Linked DNA regions of Homo sapiens: all the other regions are linked to region 3. The links are contacts of gene promoters, found by promoter capture Hi-C in human tissues and cell types (Jung and others, 2019). All regions are on one chromosome and are shown on one strand. The core of a region is centred on a gene start or on the middle of the fragment in contact, and the rest is flanking DNA. Distances in the headings are between cores, read along the strand shown. Region 1 has its middle 4.0 kb from the start of PNMA1. Region 2 has its middle 6.1 kb from the start of MIDEAS-AS1. Region 3 holds the start of ACOT1 (acyl-CoA thioesterase 1). Region 4 overlaps DNAL1 (dynein axonemal light chain 1). Region 5 overlaps NUMB (NUMB endocytic adaptor protein). Region 6 overlaps NUMB (NUMB endocytic adaptor protein). Region 7 overlaps NUMB (NUMB endocytic adaptor protein).

Region 1 (2,700 bases), core at 28-2,527, 170 kb after region 3:
ACCCCTGCCCGCAAAACATTGCTCTTAACTTCAGCGCCTATCCCAAAATCTATAAGAACTAATGATAATCCACCACCCTTTGCTGACTCTCTTTTCGGACTCAGCCCGCCTGCACCCAGGTGAAATAAACAGCCACGTTACTCACACAAAGCCTGTTTGGTGCTCTCTTCACACGGACGTGCATGAAAATAACTTCCCTCCTAAGAATGCAGCCAACTCTGCATCTATGAAAAGAAGGTCTATCCCCCCATGTTTAAACTGTAGAAGGATGTCCATAACATATTGGGCCAAAAAAAAAAAAACCCCAAGCATACACCAAAAAAACAAAACAAACAACCCCCCCGCCCCCCCCGAATAATCCTTATATACCTAGTTTGTTTTTTTGGTGCATCTGTGTGCGTGGTTTTTTGTTTTGTTTTGTTTTTTTCGAGACAGGGTCTTGTTCCGTCACCCCAGGTTGGAGTGCGGTGGCATGTTCATAGATCACTGCAACCTTGAACTCCTGGGCTCAAGCAATCCTCCTGCATCAGCCTCCTAAATAGCCTGGCTAATTTTTAAATTTACTTATTTTTGTGGAGACAAGGTCTTGGTATTTTGCTCAGGCTGGTCTTGAACTCCTGTCCTTAAGTGATCCTCCCACCTCAGCATCCCAAAGTGCTGGGATTACAGGTGTGAGCCACTACAACGGGCCCATTTTTAAAAATGTAGTATGTGGGCCAGTTGTGGTGGCTTACGCCTGTAATCCCAGCATTTTTGGAGTACTTTCAAACCACGAGGTCAGGAGTTTGAGACCAGCCCGGCCAACATGGTGAAACCTTGTCTCTACTAAAAATACAAAAATTAGCCGGGCGTAGTGGCACACACCTGTAATCCCAGCTACTTGGGAGGCTGAGGCAGGAGGATCACTTGAGCCCAACAGACAGAGGTTGCAGTGAGCTGAGATTACGCTACTGCACTCCAGCCTGGGCAACACAGCGAGACTCCGTCTCAAAAAAAAAAATGCAGTATGTGTGTATATGTGTGGAGTGGGAGTGTGTATACATATGTGGTGGCTGGTTGGTGTTTGGTGGTGGGAGTGTGTGTGGGTGTGAGGAGAAATGGGAATATATGTTGGGGGTGGGAGACTGACATCGTGTACATGTGGAGCAGGAGGAGGGTGTATGTTATGATGGGAGTACTGACGGGGAGATGACAGTGTGTCAAGAGTGTAAGAGGGGTGAGTGTGCACCTGATGCTGGTGGGAATGGAGGGGAAAGTTCTGTGAATGATGGGTAGCAGGTGAAGACATGCCAAGTGTTTGTGGTAAGTGAAGCTGAGCATATCTGTTGGGAACCAAGGCAAGTATGTGGAGATGTTTTTGTGACAGGAGGAAAGGGATGTACTGACATGAAGCGAATACGTGTACCGAAAAATCTGGAAGAACATACATTACCCCTTATAGACTTGTCGAATGGCTCAGCTATAATTTTAAAACCTTATTAGGGAAAGGCTCACTGAACACAATATTCATGTAATAACTTTAGATTCACTGAGGATCTCAAAAGATGGACATCTTCAATCACTGAATCTTTGCAGCAAAATAAACATGTTTTAAAGTTGTATTTCCCTTTTTATATCGTCCTGCTATAAAATGGTTGCTGTAAAATAGCCTTCATTTTACACAGGTGTGATGAATTATAGCTATTTCTTCAGTGAAACAAAATGTTTAGCTGAAAAGTGATCTTAAGAGAAAAACACTGCCAGATAACCTCCTGAACCCCATTTCAAGATTTTCTAAAAAAAAATTTTTTGAGAAACAGGGTCTCACTCTATCACCAGGCTGGAGTGCGGTGGGACGATCATGGCTTACTGCAGCCTCAACCTGCTGAGCTCAAGCGATGTCCCACCTTAGCCGCTGGGTGGCCACCTTAGTGCTGGGACCACAGGCGTGTGCCACCATGCCTGGCTAATTTTTAAAAGTTTGGGTGGAGATTGGGTCTATGTTGCCCAAGCTGGTCTCAAAATCTTGGCTTCAGGCAATCCTCCCTAAGTGCTGGGATTACAAGTGTGAGCCAAATCTGGTATCTAAATTTTTTTTTTTTTTTTTTTGAGATGGAGTCTCACTCTGTTGCCCAGGCTGCAGTGCAATGGCGCAATCTCGGCTCACTGCAACTTCCGCCTCCCAAAGCGATTCTCCTGACTCAGCTTCCCAAGTAGCGGGAATTACAGGCACGCACCACCACACCCGGCTAATTTTTGTATTTTTAGTAGAGACGGCGAGGTGGCTCACGCCTGTAATCCCAGCACTTTGGGAGGCCGAGGTGGGTGGATCACTTGAGGTGAGGAGTTCCAGACCAGCCTGACCAACATGGTGAAACCCGTCTCTACTAAAAAAATACAAAATTAGCTAGGCGTGGTGGCGCATGTCTGTAATCCCAGCTACTCAGGAGGCTGAAGCAGGAGAATCACTTGAACCCGGGAGGCAGAGGTTGCAGTGAGCCGAGATCGCTCCATTGCACTCCAGGCTGGGCAACAGAGCAAGACCCTCTCTGCCCGATAAAAATAAAAAATTTTAAAAATTAAAAAACAAAACAAAAAACTGTTAAGATGACAGCAAGAGGGGAAGGAAAAAAAGGACCTGCCATTTAAATTCACATAGTATCATACAAAGCTTAAAATAAATGGTTTGATTTAATGACAAAGTCTTCATAAGAAAAAAGG
Region 2 (2,762 bases), core at 119-2,618, 240 kb after region 3:
GCCTTCCAAAGTGCTGGGATTACAGGCGTGAGCCACCGCGCCCGGCCTATTATTTTTTTTTGAGACAGAGTCTTGCTCTGTTGCCCAGGCTGGAGTGCAGTGGCACCATCTCAGCTCACTGCAAGCTCCTCCTCCCGGGTTCACACCATTCTCCCGACTCAGCCTCCCGAGTAGCTGGGACTACAGGTGCCTGCCACCACGCCCAGCTAATTTTTTTGTATTTTTTAGTAGAGATGGGGTTTCACCGTGTTAGCCAGGATGGTCTCCATCTCCCGACCTCATGATCCACCAGCCTCGGCCTCCCAAAGTGCTGCGATTACAGGCGTGAGCCACCGCGCCCGGCCGATTATATTTTTATATTTCATATTACACACTGACTTTAGAATCTGAACCTCAGAAAACGCCACTCCATCAAATTATACTCTCCCAGTGACAGATCCACTCTCAGTTCTTCCCCCATCCCACCCTCTTCCACTTGCTCTAGAGGTGATGGAAAGGGTCAGGATTTCTTCCACCATCTCTCCATGGAAGCTGTGCTGACCACAAGCATTTAGGATCTGACTTCCCCAGTTATGGAGAAAAAGAAAAGTGGCCATAGCCGTAACAGTAGTGACCTTCCCCGTCATGGTTTATAAGGGACTATTCCTCGGGTTCTTCATTCTTTCACTCACTCATGCATGGGTATGACCTATCTCAGGAGCTAGGCTTGAAGCCTCCTGGGGGTAAGGAGCATGTGGCACTCTGCTTTCCACACTCACATGGTTGACAGCACTGCAGCTGTTCCACAAATGGCCGGTGAGGACAGTTGGCCCTGCATTAACTGGCTGTTCAAAGAGTGCCATGCCTGTGTTCCTGGGCCTTCTCCTGCCTGTGTCTTGGGAACTGGGAGCATTCCTCTGTCTTCTTGGTGTTGTTTAACCCATGTTCTGCACTTAGAAAACAGTAAGTAATCTTGTTGGCCAACTGAGCCTGGGTAGGAAACTTTGGGGGCTTTGATAGCAATTAAGATCCACTAAGACTACAATGAGATAATACAATGGTAAAAGCTATTAAATACGCATCCCACTCTCTTCTTAAAGACCTCTTCTTCACCCCTAGTTTTTTTTGTTTTTTTGTTGTTGTTGTTGTTGTTAAGTTTCACCTTTTTAAATCTTTGAGTACTGCCTTAGGGAAACTGAGAAGATGGAGTCCTTGGTTTACAAATAGACCTGCTGAAACTGACGATTATGATGACTAATTATCAATGCAGGATGGCCAGTGGAAATGGAGAATGGGGTTTGTGCCTGACTCTTCCATTCAACAGCTGTGGGAACTTGGAGAAGGAACTTATCCTCTCTAAGCCTCAGTTAAAATGAGAGTTAGCACAGGTTTCCTTCCAAGCTTTAAATCCTTAACCATGGGATTATCGGAGATGCTGTTACTACAGTTACTATAAAACTGGGGCTGGATGATAACAGTCCGTAAGATCCTATCCAATTCTAAAAGTTGATTATTTTGTAAAATAGCACATCTGAAAAAATGTTGATTTATTAAACTCAGTTTATACATAACTTTTCAGAAATATGTAAATCCCAGTTTCACCCTTTTATGTTTATTAAGAACTTTCAATTAAAACTGACTTCAGGCCAGCCGCGGTGGCTCATGCCTGTAATCCCAGCACTTTGGGAGGCGGAGGAGGGCAGATCACCTGAAGTTGGGAGTTCGAGACCAGCCTGACCAACATGGAGAAACCCTGTCTCTACTAAAAATACAAAATTAGCCAGGTGTGGTGGCGCATGCCTGTAATCCCAGCTACTCGGGAGGCCGAGGTAGTAGAATCACTTGAACCCGGCAGGCAGAGATTATGGTGAGCCAAGATCGTGCCATTGCACTCCAGCCTGGGCAACAAGAGCGAAACTCTGTCTCAAAAAAAAAAAAAAAAAAAAAACTGACTTCAGGCCAGACACGGTGGCGCACGCCTGTAATCTCAACACTTTTTGAGGTTAGGGAGGCCAAGGCGGGTGGATCACCCGAAGTCAAGGGTTCAAGACCAGCCTGGCCAACATGGGGAAACCTTGTCTTTACTAAAAACACAAAAATTAGACGGGCGTGGTGGCAGACATCCATAATCCCAGCTACTCAGGAAGCTGAGGCAGGAGAATCGCTTGAACCTGGGGTGCGGAGGTTGCAGTGAGCCAAGATCACACCACTTCACTCCAGCCTGGGTAGAGTAAAAAACAGGAATCTACCAGATTCTATTTTTAAATAAAACAAAACGTTAAAAGAATCTAGCTTATACGTGCATTTTATAGTATGTGAATTATTTTTCAAAAAAGAAAGAATCTGGCTTATGAGGCAAGGTTGTGATTAACAGCATGAGGACTGGCTAAAGGCAACACAGTCCTCCTAGCCAAGTCCAATGCTAGGGTTCAGCCAGGATCTCCCCAAAACTCAGTTTTATAGTTTAGCCTGGTTTTGTAAGTTCAACACCTATTTGGGCAAAACAAGCATGCGGCCAACCAGGAAGCCTCACTTTGCCCTCCTCACAGTCTATATATATATATAGATATATGAAGAGAGAGAGAGAATCTCTGTCACCCAAGCTGGAGTGCAGTGGCATGCAATCCTCCTACCTCAGCCTCCCAAGTAACTGGGACTACAGGCACGTGCCACCGTGCCTGACTAATTTTTTGCATTTTTTTACAGAGAAGGGGTCTTGCCACATTGCCTAGGCTGGTCTTGAACTTCTAGGCTCAAGTGATCCTTCCGCCTCAGCCTCCCAA
Region 3 (2,705 bases), core at 129-2,628:
CACCGCGCCTGGCCCCTTTTTCTTGTTAGAGACAGGGTCTTATCCAGGTTGGTCTGAAACTCCTGGCCTTAAGAAACCCTGCCACCTCAGCCTCCAAGTAAACTGGGATTATAGGCGTGAGCCACCTCACCCAACTTCCACTTCCCAGCTGTATGATCTTCAGAAAATCAGTTAAATTCTCTGGGCCTTAATTTACTACTACGGTTCTTGTAAGTATTAACAATTAGCTACTATTATTTACCTTCTTTAGTTCCTGAGACTTCTATGCACAGAATATACTTGATGTGTGCCACAGAACCTATACAAAGGTAATTACAACTAACAGGGAGTTGTATGATAATGACATGGGACATGGGACATGAGAGCATTTGGAAAGAGATAAAAAGGCTTACCTTGAGGACAGCCTTATTAGGAGCAGAGGCAAACACAGGTTTTGTGAGTTTGAAGCTTACGCATTTATAGGTTTCTCTAATTACCAAGATAGGAAATTATGAAATCAGGTACAAGGGCTTGGGAGGGGCCTAAAGCTTAAGTTTGATGAAAAAAAAAAACCACCTCTGGTTGGAACCAATAGCCTATGAAAAAGTAGAAAAAAGCCCAATGCATGGGGAGCGCCGGTAGTCCCTTGAGGTGTTTGAGAGGCTGAGGCAGGAAGATGGCTTTAGCCCAGGAGTTTGAGGCTTGTAAGTGCGCAGTGATGGTAAACCGCCGCTGTACTCCAGACTGGCAACGTAGTGAGACCCTGTCTCTTTAAAAAAAAAAAAAAAAAAAAAAAAAGATGAGAGGTAACACTTGCCTGACTGGGACAAAAATGAGAAACCAGTATAAGAAAATAATAACTATTGGCCGGGCGCGGTGGCTCATCGCCTGTAAATCCCAGCACTTTGGGAGGCCGAGGCGGGCGGATCACAAAGTCAGGAGTTCGAGAAATTAATAACTATTACCTCATTTGGCTATTTTTACACCTGTAAGGAATAAAGCTCAGAGGTCACACAGCTAGTAAGAAGCCAGCACCCTTCGATGTGGGAGTGATGTGGAGGATAGGCATATACAGAGAACACGAAAGCAAAACACCATGGTGCAGATTTTGAAAGAAAAGCCCTAAGATTAGTAATGAGTGTGAATTATTCAACAAAGTGATCAAAACCAACTCCAGTCCTGCATTCCTCTTCGCCATCAGGAGTTTGGAGCCTGGAGACTGCTAGCTGCCTGGTTGTTGTTGTTTTTTTTTTTTTCTGAGACGGACTTTCGCTCTGTCGCCCAGGCTGTAGTGCAGTGGCATGATCTTGGCCAACTGCAAGCTCCACCCCCCGGGATCACGCCATTCTCCTGCCTCAGCCTCCCGAGTAGCCGGGACGAACCAGTCCTGGCCCAGCCCATTCCGCGAGCCAGCAAGCTTCTGAAAAGCAAACCTAGGAAGTTGCTTTCCAACATAAAGTGGAGGTTTCAACACAGGAGACTTTAAGCAAGTTCCAGTGTGTCTATATTTGGTCTGGCTGATCGGCTGGACTCTGGCCTTCCCCGCTCACATTAGCAGACAGCTCTGCCCTAGTGGGCGTTTAGCCTGCGACGGCAGCCCGAGAGGAAGAGTTGGGCAGAGTTGCAGGGGTCTCCACAGCTGAGGCAGTTTGGCCGGATTATTTGGGTTCCTGCTCGGATGGCGGCGACGCTGATCCTGGAGCCCGCGGGCCGCTGCTGCTGGGACGAACCGGTGCGAATCGCCGTGCGCGGCCTAGCCCCGGAGCAGCCGGTCACGCTGCGCGCGTCCCTGCGCGACGAGAAGGGCGCGCTTTTCCAGGCCCACGCGCGCTACCGCGCCGACACCCTTGGCGAGCTGGACCTGGAGCGCGCGCCCGCGCTGGGCGGCAGCTTCGCGGGGCTTGAGCCCATGGGGCTGCTCTGGGCCTTGGAGCCCGAGAAACCCTTGGTGCGGCTGGTGAAGCGCGACGTGCGAACGCCCTTGGCCGTGGAGCTGGAGGTGCTGGATGGCCACGACCCCGACCCCGGGCGGCTGCTGTGCCGGGTGCGGCACGAGCGCTACTTCCTCCCGCCCGGGGTGCGGCGCGAGCCGGTGCGCGCGGGCCGGGTGCGAGGCACGCTCTTCCTGCCGCCAGGTGACTCACCTCCGCTAATTGTTCCCCTCTGCCCATCCCTGTTCCTGCGCTTTCCACTGTGTGTGTGTGTGTGTCCCCTTCGCCCCGCCCCGCTCTTTTCGCTTGTGTGTGTGTCCCTCCTCCCGCCCCACCACCACCACCCCGGGCTATGTTGCCCAGGTAGGTCTTGAACTCCTGGACCCAAGCTATCCTCCCGCCTCTGCCTCCCCAAGAGCTAGGATTGCAGGGTGAGCCACTGCGCCCGGCCCTTTGAGGGGAGTTACACTTATTTTTTTATTTTTATTTTTTTTCGTCCCTGCGCTTTTCATACGGAGAAAGGATGTAGCTTCCAACATTCCGGAGGTTAGTGTAAGGAGACAGGAATGGAATGGAAAGTTGGTTGGGGAATTGCCCCTGCCGCTCCAAAACTGAGAGGTCCCTCAAACCTAGTGCTCAGTTAAAAGACATTGTAAGGGCTGGGCGCGCTGGCTCACGCCTGTAATCCCAGCACTTTGAGAAGCCGAGGCGGGCGGATCACGACGTCAGGAGATCAAGGCCATCCTGGCTAACACGGTGAAAACTCGTCTCTACTAAAAATACAAAAAATTAGCC
Region 4 (2,705 bases), core at 26-2,525, 150 kb after region 3:
CTCTTCGACATACTGTTTTCATTTCTTTTGGCTATATACCCTGTAGTGAGATTGCTGAATCATATGGTAGTTCTATTTTTAATTTCCTGGGTAATTTATAGTTTTTGTTGCTATGATGCATTTCTCTTTAACACCCTTCCTGTTTATATTAAATAATATAAAAGCCATTTATTTTTGTATACTTAACATGTAATCAACTACCTACCAACAATTCTTAACTGTTTATAAATCACATCCCCACAACAATTTTCAAGCAACATTGTGTTACCTGGATTCATTACTTTATACAGAGCAATAATCATCATCATCATCCTCATTACATATAGTCTAAAATAGAGGTCAGCTGGGCATGGTGGCTCACGCCTATAGTCCTAGCACTTTGGGAGGTCGAGGCAGGATTGCTTGAGGCCAGGAGTTTGAGACCAGCCTAGACAACATAGTGAGACTCTTGTCTCTACAAAAAAAAATTTTTTTAAATTAGCCAAGCATGGTGGCACGTGCCTGTTCTAACTACTCAGGGGGCTGAGGCAGGAGGATCACTTGAGCCCAGGAGTTCAAGGCTGCAGTGACCTGATTGTGCCCTGTACTGCAGCCTGCGTAACAGATCGAGACTCTGTCTCTAAACTAAAAAACAAACTAAAAAAATAGATTTTATGGCATTTCATAAAGCTCTCCCACTTCTGTAACCTCCAACATGATATTATTTACAGAGTAGACATTTACTTTTTTGTTTTCAATACTTACAATGGTTTGTTGACCTTAAAAAATCATAAATTTTAATAGCTGAGAGGAACCTTAAAGAACTTGTCCAACTTCCTCATTTTTTCCAATGTTTTTTATGGTGGTGAAATATACATAACATAAAGTTTACCATCTAAAACATTTTTAAGTGTATAGTTCAGTGGTAGTAAGTAGACTTGCACAACCATCACCATCCATCTCCAGAACTCTCTTCATCTTGTGTGTCTGAACCTCTGTAAGCATACAGTAGCTTCCTACTGCCTCTTCCCTGATCCCTGGCACCCACCATTCCACTTTCCGTCTTTACGAATTTAACTACTCTAGGTATTTCATATAAGTAGTATCATACAGCATTTATCTTTTTGTGACTGGCTTATTTAACTTAGCGTAATATCCTCAAGTTTCATCCATGTTGTAGCGTGTGTCAGAATTTCCTTTCTGCTTAATTTTTTTTTTTTTTTTTGAGACTGAGTCTCACTGTATCGCTGAGGCTGGAGTGCAGTTGCGCAATTTTGGCTCGTTCCAACCTCTACCTCCCAGGTTCAAGTGATTCTTCTGCCTCAGCCGCCAAAGTAGCTGGGACTACAGGCATGTGCCACCATGCCCGGCTAATTTTTTTATATTTTTATTAGAGATGGGATTTCACCATGTTGGCCAGGCTGGTCTCAAACTCCTGACCTAAGGTGAGCCGCCCGCCTTGGCTTCCCAAAGTATTGGGATTACAGATGTGAGCCACTGCACCCAGCCCATTCCTGCTTAATGTTAAATGATATTCTATTACGGTATGTATATACCATGTTTTGTTTATCCGTTTGTCTATCAGTGGACACTTGGGTCACGTCCATCTTTTGGCTATTGTGAATTTGCTACTGTGAACATGGGCGTACCAATATCTCGAGATCCCACTTTCATTTCTTCTGAATATGTGCCCCGAAGTGGAATGGCTGGATCCCCTGTTAAGTGATATCAATTATCATATGATAATTAATTTTTTAAGGAACGGCCAAATTGTTTTCCATAGCAGCTGCACCATTTTACCTCCCTGCCAACCGTGTACAAGGTTCCAATTTCTCCACATCCTCACTAATACTTACTATTTTCTGTGATTTTGATAGTAGCTATCCTAATGGGTATGAGATGGTATTTCATTGCGCCAGTCTCCTCATTTTACAGAGTAAGAAACTGAGGGGAGAAATGGCTTGTTTACATGCAGAAGCTGACCAGTTTGCTAAATGACTGTTCAGTTATTGTCCAATTCTCGAAAGAGTCAGCTTATTTAATGACAGATTTCACTGAATTGATTCACTCAAACTTTGCCAGGTTTTCCTCATTGATATTCACTAGACTGCTTCACAAAAATCTTGTCTTTATTATCTACTTAACAAATACTTACAGGAAATTGTATTATTGGCTGGGCACAGTGGCTCATGCCTTAATCCAGCACTTTGGGAGGCCGAGGCGGGCAGATCCCTTGAGTCCAGGAGTTCAAGACCAGCCTGGACAACATCTCTACAAAACCCATCTCTACCAAAAAGACAAAAATTAGCCAGATGTGGTAGTGTGCACCTGTAGTCCCAGCTACTAGGGAGGCTGAGGTGAGAGGATTGCTTGAGCCCGGGGGAGGTTGAGGCTGCAGTTAGCTGTGAGTGTGACACTGCACCCCAGTCTGGGTGACAGAGTGAGACCCTGTCTCAAAACAAAACAAAAAACAACTTTTTTATGTTTGAAAATCATCATAATAAATGTTGGAGAAGACCCTGAATTTTAGACCTAGCTCTATTATTTAATAGTGTGTTCTTAGAAAAAGCCCTTAATCCCTCTGTAATAGAAATCAAATAACCTGCCTTATCGGCTTTAAAGCAGATGTTCTAAGGACCAAATAATATACTCTATAGGAATGTAATTTGAAAACCGTACCATTAATGAACGAGATAAGATAGTGCCATTATTTCCCCTCTTGGTGA
Region 5 (2,700 bases), core at 174-2,673, 150 kb before region 3:
TAATTTTTGTATTTTTAGTAGAGACAGGGTTTTACCATGTTGGCCAGGCTGGTCTTGAACTCCTGACCTCAGGTGATCCACCTGCCTCAGCCTCCCAAAGTGCCACTGCGCCCAGCCAAAGTGCCTATTTTTATAGCAAAAAAAAAAAAAAGTAAGCAGAACTTTAGGTAGTCTCACAGAAAAATTAAGAGTCCAGGGCCTGACAAGAAGGAGAGGCCCTGACACATACCCTAGGTACCTCTGGTACCTCTGAAATACAATACTCTTGAAGTGGAAACTAGATTTAAACCAGCCCTTGAGAACCATAAAACAAAGCCTCAGATCATCTCAAGTCCATATTACAACAATGTCATCTACTCCTACTTTTAACTACCATCAGAGAGGAGAAAAACAAATCCTCTCTACAGAACAGTATCATCATAAAGAGCCTCTATTATTTCCCATATATGATGTTTGACATTCATTTTTAAAATGACCAGGAATGCTAGGAGACAGAACCAAATGACTGAAAATCAAGAGAAAAAAAGAAGACAATAGGAAAAGATCAAATAGGAGCTGGGCACAGTGGCTCATGCCTGTAATCCCAGCACTTTGGGAGGCTGAGGTGGGCAGATCACTTGAGGGCAGGAGTTTGAGACCAACCTGGCCAATATGGCAAAACCCTGTCTCTACCAAAAATACAAAAATCAGCTAGGCGTGGTGGCACACATATGTAATCCCAGCTACTTGGGAGGCTGAGGCACAAGAATTACTTGAACCCATGAGGCAGAGGTTGCAGTGAGCTGAGATTGTGCCACTGCACTCCAGCCTCAGTGACAGATCAAAACTCTGTCTTCAAAAAATAAAAAAAGAGAAAGATCAAATGGGGATCCAGGGATCCAGACATTGTTAATTACCACACACAGACTTTAAATAATTGTGATTAATATGTTCAGGAAAATAGAGGACAAGATGAGAATTTCACCAGAGAACTGGAATCTATGAAAACAAAAAAAAAGTTAAATTGAAAATCGAGAACTAAAAAATACATAATATAAAACTAACAATATAGCAGATGCTTTTAATAGCAGACTGAACATTAACTGAACTAGAAAAAAGGTCAACAGAAAATATCTAGATGGAGCACAAAGAAAAAGATAGAAAATACAGAAAAGAGCATGAGAGACATGTGAGATGCAGAGAAAGATCTAACATACAGTTATCTAGAATCCCAGAGGGAACTGAAAGAATGAGACAGAAGCAATATCAGAAGAGATATTCCAAACCTGACAAAAGACATCAAGCTACAGATCCTAGAGGATCTCCGGACCTGAAACATCTTAAATGATGAAAATCATAAAAAGCATGAAAGAAAACCACGTAAGCATCTTACTGAAAACTGCTAAAAACCGAAGACATTGCTTCTCTAATAAAAACAATGGGGGGCTGGGCACGGTGGCTCACATCTGTAATACCAGCACTTTGGGAGGCTGAGGTGGGCAGATCACCTGAGGTCAGGAGTTCGAGACCAGCCTGGCCAACATGGTAAAACCCTGTCTCTACAAAAAATACAAAAATTAGCCAGGCATGGTGGGACGCGCCTATAGTCCCAGCTACTGGGAGGGGCTGAGGCAGAGGAACCGCTTGAACTCAGGAGGCAGAGGTTGCAGTGAGCCAAGATCATGCCACTGCACTCCAGCCTGGGCGACAGAGTGAGACTCTGTCTCAAAAAAATAAATAAATAAAATAGAAACAATGAAGTCAGAAGGCAATAAAATGATATATTTAAAATGCTGAAAGAAAAGAACTGCCAACCTGGAATTCTATGCCCAATAAAACTATCCTTTTAAAATTAAGACAAAATTTCTTTTTTTTTTTTTGAGACGGAGTCTTCCTCCACACCATTCTCCTGCCTCAGCCTCCTGAGTAGCTGGGACTATAGGGGCCCACCACCATGCCCAGCTAATTTTTTATATTTTTTAGTAGAGACGGGGTTTCACTGTGTTAGCCAGGATGGTCTCGATCTCCTGACCTCATGATCCACCCGCCTCGGCCTCCCAAAAGGTTGGGATTACAGGCTTGAGCCACCTCACCTGGCTTAAGACAAAATTTCTAAAAATGCTTTCAGACAAAAATAGAACACTCATTACCAATAGACTTACACTTAAAAGAAAAGTGCAGTCTATGAAGAAAGAAAATAATCCCAGATGGAAGCACAGTAACACAGGAAAGAATCAACAATACATACAAGAAAGAAGAAATACATGCATAAAATTAAAAAACTATAATTTTTTTTGAGACAGGGTCTGGCTCTCTCGCCTACGCTGGAGTGCCATAGGGTGATCTTGGCTAACTGCAACCTCTGCCTCCGAGGCTCAAACCATCCTCCCACCTCAGCCTTCCAAGTAGCTGAGATTATAGGCACGTGCCACCACGCCTGGCTTTTTTGTTTGTTTGTTTGTTTGTTTGTTAGAGATGAGGTCTTGCCATGTTGCCTAGGCTGGTCTTGAACTCTGGAGCTCAAGTGATCCTCCTGCCTCGGCCTCCCAAAATGCTGAGATTACAGGTGTGAGCCACCATGCCCAGCCAAATAACTGTAATTTTTTTTTTTTTTTTTTTTTGAGACGGAGTTTCGCTCTTGCTGCCCAGGCTGGAGTGCAATGGCACAATTTCGGCTCACTGTAACCTCTGCCTCCCAGGTTCAAGCGATTCTCCTGCCTT
Region 6 (2,700 bases), core at 114-2,613, 250 kb before region 3:
CCCTACTTATATACAAGAATTCAAAAGTATTTTCAAGCCCTATCATTTAGTTGTAAAATATACCCAACTCACATTTATAGACTGCCAACTAACTTGAATGTTTGTACAGGCATTTCTGCTGTGATGCCATGTGTACCTAAATAAAACTCACACTCTATAAAATCACACACTAAATTAAATTAACAGGGCTATAGAAAAAAAGAGTTATAGGCTTACCTCTCAAAATCTATAGACTTTTGTGACTAGAAAGCACTAAAAAACAGCAATAATATCATATAAACAGTATTACTGTTAAATCTCTCTGCTAGCATCATAGTCCGTGGATGCTTTGCAGCCTTAAGCCCTGGGACCTCTGCTGCTTCCTTTAAGATGCAGGTACTTGATTCATTTGCTTCTCAAAGAGATCAGATACATCAGAATTAAAAAGGTATTTCAGGATGGGAGGAAGGGGGTAAGAGATGTCTCTGCAGCTTCTTCAACTGCACTCTGATTCCTCAGATAGCTTACTATAATGGAGTAAATATTTTTGAAGCCATTAAACTAGCCACTCTAAAGGAAGCGGTTTTTAAGATTTTCAACTTTGTTATAAGGTTTTATATTGCTAAGGGTTCTCTTTGATTATGAGAAAATTTACCCCTGGTAGCTTCAAAATAATACCTTGTTGGGAAAAACTGCATTCCATAAATACACACTGTAGAACAGATTGTACCTTTCTTGGCATCTTGCATTTGTTTCATGATCTCCTCTCTTTCTGCTTGTTCAGTGGCTGTTGTGACACGGAATGATCCTTCTCTTGTAAAAGTGGTCCGACTAGCATCAAAAGTAGCAGTCACTCCACATTCCTTCTCCCGCTTCTGCTTGCGCTCTAAACAGGCTGCAAAAGCACAGCCTACTGCATGGCTCAACCTTTCACCCTGTAAGAGCAGATTTTAAAAGCTTTTCAGAATTACACTACTAACAATTACATACAAATAAGTCTTTTGTTTTGTTTTGTTTTTGAGACAGAGTCTTACTGTTACCCAGGCTGGAGTGCAGTGGCGCAGTCTCTGCTCACTGCAACCTCTGCCTCCGGGCTCAAATACTTCTCGTGCCTCAGCCTCCTGAGTAGCTGGGACTACAATCACGCACCACCACACCTGGCTAATTTTTGTATTTTTAGTAGAGATGGGGTTTTGCTATGTTGGGCAGGCTGGTCTCCAACTCCTGGCCTCAAGTGGTCTACCCAATTCAGCCTCCCAAAGTGCTGGGATTACAGGCATGAGCCACCACACTCGGCCCAAATGTCTGTTTTTATGAAAGCAAGATGTTGCAAATTCCAGCTTAAAATTGTTTTAATAGATTAGTATGCCATATTAATTTAAATGAATAAATTTTCTAAGGTAGTGCTTATGATGGTTCAATTCACTGTTACAAGCCTTGGGGTAAAGTGATAACCAGCAACCTGTGCTTTTGTAAGCAGCCATGGAGAACTCTTTATCACTTAGGCTCTGTCATGTCAGCCCTGGCCAACAGCTTAGAAGACTCTATGCAAGGTTTCAAGCCTTGACATGCAAGCTTCTAGTTGCCCTTTGGGGAAGCAGTGGGAATATTTACCAGCCACTTCTAAGAAACTACTGGAAAGGCAAGGCAAATTTCAGGAGCTTAATGCACTGTTAATATGTCTAGGAAAAAAAGGTGCAAACTTAAAACTTCTGATAAACAAATATAATTCCAGTGATTAAAAAGGAATGAGGCTGGGCATGGTGGCTCACATCTGTAATCCCAGCACTTTGGGAGGCTGAGATGGGCAAATTGCTTGAGCCCAGGAGTTTGAGACCAGCCTGGATAACACAGTGAGACTCTGTCTCTACCAAAATAATAAAAAAAATTAGGCCAGGTGCGATGGCTCACACCTGTAATCCCAGCACTTTGGGAGGCTGAGATGGGTGGATCATGAGGTCAGGAGCTCGAGACCAGCCTGCCCAACGTGGCGAAACCCCGTCTCTACTAAAAATACAAAAATTAGCCGGATGTGGTGGCGGGTGCCTGTAATCCCAGCTACTTGAGAGGCTGAGACAGGAGAATTGCTTGAAGTCGGGAAGTAGAGGTTGCTGTGAGCTGAGATGGCGCCATTGCACTCCAGCCTGGGCAACAAGAGCAAAACTCCGTCTCAAAAAATAAATAAAAATCAAAATAAAGGCCGGGCACAGTGGCTCATGCCTATAATCCCAGCACTTTGGGAGGCTGAGGTGGGCGGATCACCTGAGGTCAGGAGTTCAAGACCAGCCTGACCAACATGGAGAAACCCTGTCTCTACTAAAAATACAAAATTAGCCAGGCATGATGGCGCATGCCTGTAATCCCAGCTACTCGGGAGGCTGAGGCAGGAGAATCACTTGAACCCAGGAGGTGGAGGTTGCAGTAAGCCACGATCGTGCCATTGCACTCCAGCCTGGGCAACAAGAGCAAAACTCCGTCTCAAAAAAAATAATAATTAAAAAAAAAGAAAAAGAAAAAATTAGTCGAGTGTGGTGGTGGTGTGTGTCTGTGGTCCTACTTGGGAGGTGGGAGGATCACTTAAGCCTACAGTAAGCTCTAATTGTGCCACTGCACTCCAGCCTGGGTGACATAATGAGACCCTGTCTCAAAAAACAAACAAACAAACAAAACTAACAATGAGACAAAAGCTTTGCTGTCTCCCCTTTCTGAATCCCCCCTCTA
Region 7 (2,700 bases), core at 155-2,654, 140 kb before region 3:
TCTCGGTATATACTAGAGTAACCTTTGCACATATCAATAGGATATATGCATAAGGATGTACACAGCAGCACTATTTGTTTTAGTTTTCAACACACCTAGGTATCAATTATTAGAGAAACATACAAGTAAAATGTGGAAATACATATACAATGGAACATTATACAACAGTCAGTTGTTGTAAACTAGATTTACAAATACAGTATGCGCTTCCATAATTCCTTTTTTTGATCAAAAAAGAATAAATAGATTCACAGCATAATACCATTATACGGATTAAAAACACATACACACAAAACAATATGAAAATATTTCAAAAATAAGCACTTACTTACATTAAGCATATTAAATAGTTGGCCCTCCACATCCATGGGTTCAACCAGCTATGGACTGAAAATATGCCAGAGCCGGGCACAGCGGCTCACGCCTATAATCCTGGCACTTCGGGAGGCTGAGGCGGGCAGATCACCTGAGGTCCGGAGTTAGAAACCAGCCTGACGAAAATGGAGAAACCCTGTCTCTACTAAAAATACAAAATTAGCCGGGTGTGGTGGCGCATGCCTATAATCTCTGCTACTTGGAAGGCTGAGGCAGGAGAATTGCTTGAACCCAGGACACAGAGGCTGCAGTGAGCCGAGATTGTGCCATTGCACTCCAGCCTGGGCGACAAGAGAGAAACTATGTCTCAAAAAAGAAAAAAAAATATGCCAGAGAAAAAAAGGCTTAGCCATATGCAGTGGCTGACATCTGTAATTCCAACAACTCCAGAGGCTAAACTAGGAGGACTGCTTGAGGCCAGGAGTTTGAGCTTACAGTGAACAATGACTACACCACTGCACTCCAGCATGGGCAACACAGCAAGAGCCTGTCTCTAAAAAATAAACAGGCCAGGCATGGTGGCTCACACCTGTAATCCCAACACTTTGGGAGGCCAAGGCCAGTGGATCACTTGAGGTCAGGAGTTCAAGACCAGCCTAGCCAACATGGAGAAACCCCATCTCTACAAAAATAAAAAAATTAGCTGGATGTCGTGGCATCTGTAATCCCAGCTACTCGGGAGGCTGAGGCAGGAGAATCGTTTGAACGCAGGAGATGGAGGTTGCAGTGAGCTGAGATCGTGCCACTGCACTCCAGCCTGGGCGATGGAGTGAGACTCTGTCTCAAAAACAAAAACAAAAAAAAACAAAAAAGTAAAAATATATAAATGAATAAGCAAGCAAGTGAGCTAGCAAGTCATGAAGAGCAGACATGAAAGAACTTTAAATGCACACTACTAAGTGAAAGAAGCCAATCTGAAAAGGCTACATATACCATATGATTCCAACTATATGACATTCTGGAAAAGGCACAACTATGGAGACAGGAAAAGGATCAGTGGTTACCAAAGGTTAGGTGAGAGGAAGGGATGGACAGCCAGAGCACAGAGAATCTTTGGGGTAGTAAACCTATTTTGCATGATACTACAGTGGTGGATGCATGTCATTACATTTGCCAAAATCCTTGAAAGTACAACACCAAGAATAAACTCTAATGTAACCTAAGGACTTAGGGTGAAAATAATGTGTCAATGTGGGTTTATCGATTATAACAAATTATGAAACATATAATTGGTCTTCTTGCCCTTTCCTGACATATACCTCATAAAACCATTGGCACCTCTGGAGTGATGAGTATCTTTTACATGCTAATGAGATGACAGTGGCTGGACATCTCTAGATAGCTTCAAGGATAAGGGCTGGTCACCTGAAAGACCAAGGCATGATAAGAGGGTTGCCCCCAACCTCCAGAGAGGGAAGAGGAGCTGAAGGGTAAGCTGATTACAAATGGCCAATGACTTAATCAATCATGCCTATGTAATGAGGCTTCCATAAAAACCCGAAAGGACAGGGTTTGGAGAGCTTCCGGATAGATGAACACTTGGAGGTTCCAGGAGGGTGGCACACCTGAAGAAGGCATGGCATGCCCCTTTCCACATACCTTGCCCTATGCATCTCTTCCATCTGTCTCCTTTGTAATACCCTTTATGATAACCCAATAAATGTAAATGAAGTGTTTCCCTGAGTTCTGTGAGCCACTCTAGCAAATTAATTGAACCAAAAGAGGGAGCTGTGGTAACCCCAATTTATGGCTAATCAGCCAGAAGCACAGGACACAACGTGGGGCTTGCAATTTAAGTAGGGGATTGAGCCCTCAACCTGTGGGATCTGATTCTATCTCCAAGTAAATAATGTCAGAATTGAGTTAAAATGTAGGATACCCAGCTGGTGTCTGCCAAAGAATTGACTGGGTTGCTGGTAGATAGAAATCCCCACGCATTTTGGTGACCAGAGGTGCTGTGTTATACTGAGTTTGTATTGGTTTGATTTTTCTTATATCTCCTGTGTACTATTCTGGTAAGGAATGTTGACAGTAAGAAAGGCTGTGGGTTTGTGGGGGCAACAGGTATATGGAAACTCTCTGTATTTTTTTTGCTCAATTTTGCTATAAACCTGAAACTGTTCTAAAAAAATTAAGTCTTCCAAAACTAACAAAAAAAAAAACAGGGGATGGTACTCATGAACCAATAATGACTAACTGGCTATAAACAAACAAAACAAAGAAGTACAGATCTGGAAGGTTCATGTCAAAGGCACCAGAGCACATCCATGTGTACAACGGAAACCACTAACAAAATATGTAAGACTAAATTTTTTTTTTTTTTTT

What was found. Contacts are between HindIII fragments. The study calls those that stand out against the background at their distance.
Region 1: a contact is called between a fragment that was not itself captured here and the fragment with the promoter of ACOT1 in region 3, in 2 of the 25 tissues and cell types used here (dorsolateral prefrontal cortex and hippocampus).
Region 2: a contact is called between a fragment that was not itself captured here and the fragment with the promoter of ACOT1 in region 3, in 2 of the 25 tissues and cell types used here (H1 embryonic stem cells and dorsolateral prefrontal cortex).
Region 4: a fragment that was not itself captured here is called in contact with the fragment with the promoter of ACOT1 in region 3 in 1 of the 25 tissues and cell types used here (mesenchymal stem cells).
Region 5: a fragment that was not itself captured here is called in contact with the fragment with the promoter of ACOT1 in region 3 in 1 of the 25 tissues and cell types used here (mesenchymal stem cells).
Region 6: a fragment that was not itself captured here is called in contact with the fragment with the promoter of ACOT1 in region 3 in 2 of the 25 tissues and cell types used here (H1 embryonic stem cells and mesenchymal stem cells).
Region 7: a fragment that was not itself captured here is called in contact with the fragment with the promoter of ACOT1 in region 3 in 1 of the 25 tissues and cell types used here (mesenchymal stem cells).

What each region holds. Positions count from the first base shown.
Region 1 is chr14:73,709,028-73,711,727 of GRCh38, forward strand. No RefSeq gene overlaps it. Among named protein-coding and RNA genes, the nearest start is that of PNMA1, 4.0 kb to the right of the region's middle. The HindIII fragment of the contact is 7,422 bases long and covers 1-2,700 here.
Region 2 is chr14:73,779,830-73,782,591 of GRCh38, forward strand. It overlaps a transcript of MIDEAS not described here. Among named protein-coding and RNA genes, the nearest start is that of MIDEAS-AS1, 6.1 kb to the right of the region's middle. The HindIII fragment of the contact is 5,805 bases long and covers 1-2,762 here.
Region 3 is chr14:73,535,765-73,538,469 of GRCh38, forward strand. It overlaps ACOT1 (acyl-CoA thioesterase 1), which reads left to right and starts at 1,379. Exons shown (of 3, transcript NM_001037161.2): 1 at 1,379-2,114. The coding sequence starts at 1,658. All of the region lies in intron 1 of HEATR4 (HEAT repeat containing 4), which reads right to left. The HindIII fragment of the contact is 14,338 bases long and covers 1-2,705 here.
Region 4 is chr14:73,684,274-73,686,978 of GRCh38, forward strand. All of the region lies in intron 5 of DNAL1 (dynein axonemal light chain 1), which reads left to right. Among named protein-coding and RNA genes, the nearest start is that of PNMA1, 29 kb to the right of the region's middle. RefSeq lists an enhancer at 1,255-1,424. The HindIII fragment of the contact is 5,854 bases long and covers 1-2,705 here.
Region 5 is chr14:73,382,311-73,385,010 of GRCh38, forward strand. All of the region lies in intron 2 of NUMB (NUMB endocytic adaptor protein), which reads right to left. Among named protein-coding and RNA genes, the nearest start is that of NUMB, 75 kb to the right of the region's middle. The HindIII fragment of the contact is 4,633 bases long and covers 1-2,700 here.
Region 6 is chr14:73,286,401-73,289,100 of GRCh38, forward strand. It overlaps NUMB (NUMB endocytic adaptor protein), which reads right to left. Exons shown (of 13, transcript NM_001005743.2): 9 at 710-914. Among named protein-coding and RNA genes, the nearest start is that of PAPLN-AS1, 42 kb to the left of the region's middle. The HindIII fragment of the contact is 3,412 bases long and covers 1-2,700 here.
Region 7 is chr14:73,398,880-73,401,579 of GRCh38, forward strand. All of the region lies in intron 2 of NUMB (NUMB endocytic adaptor protein), which reads right to left. Among named protein-coding and RNA genes, the nearest start is that of NUMB, 58 kb to the right of the region's middle. The HindIII fragment of the contact is 5,297 bases long and covers 1-2,700 here.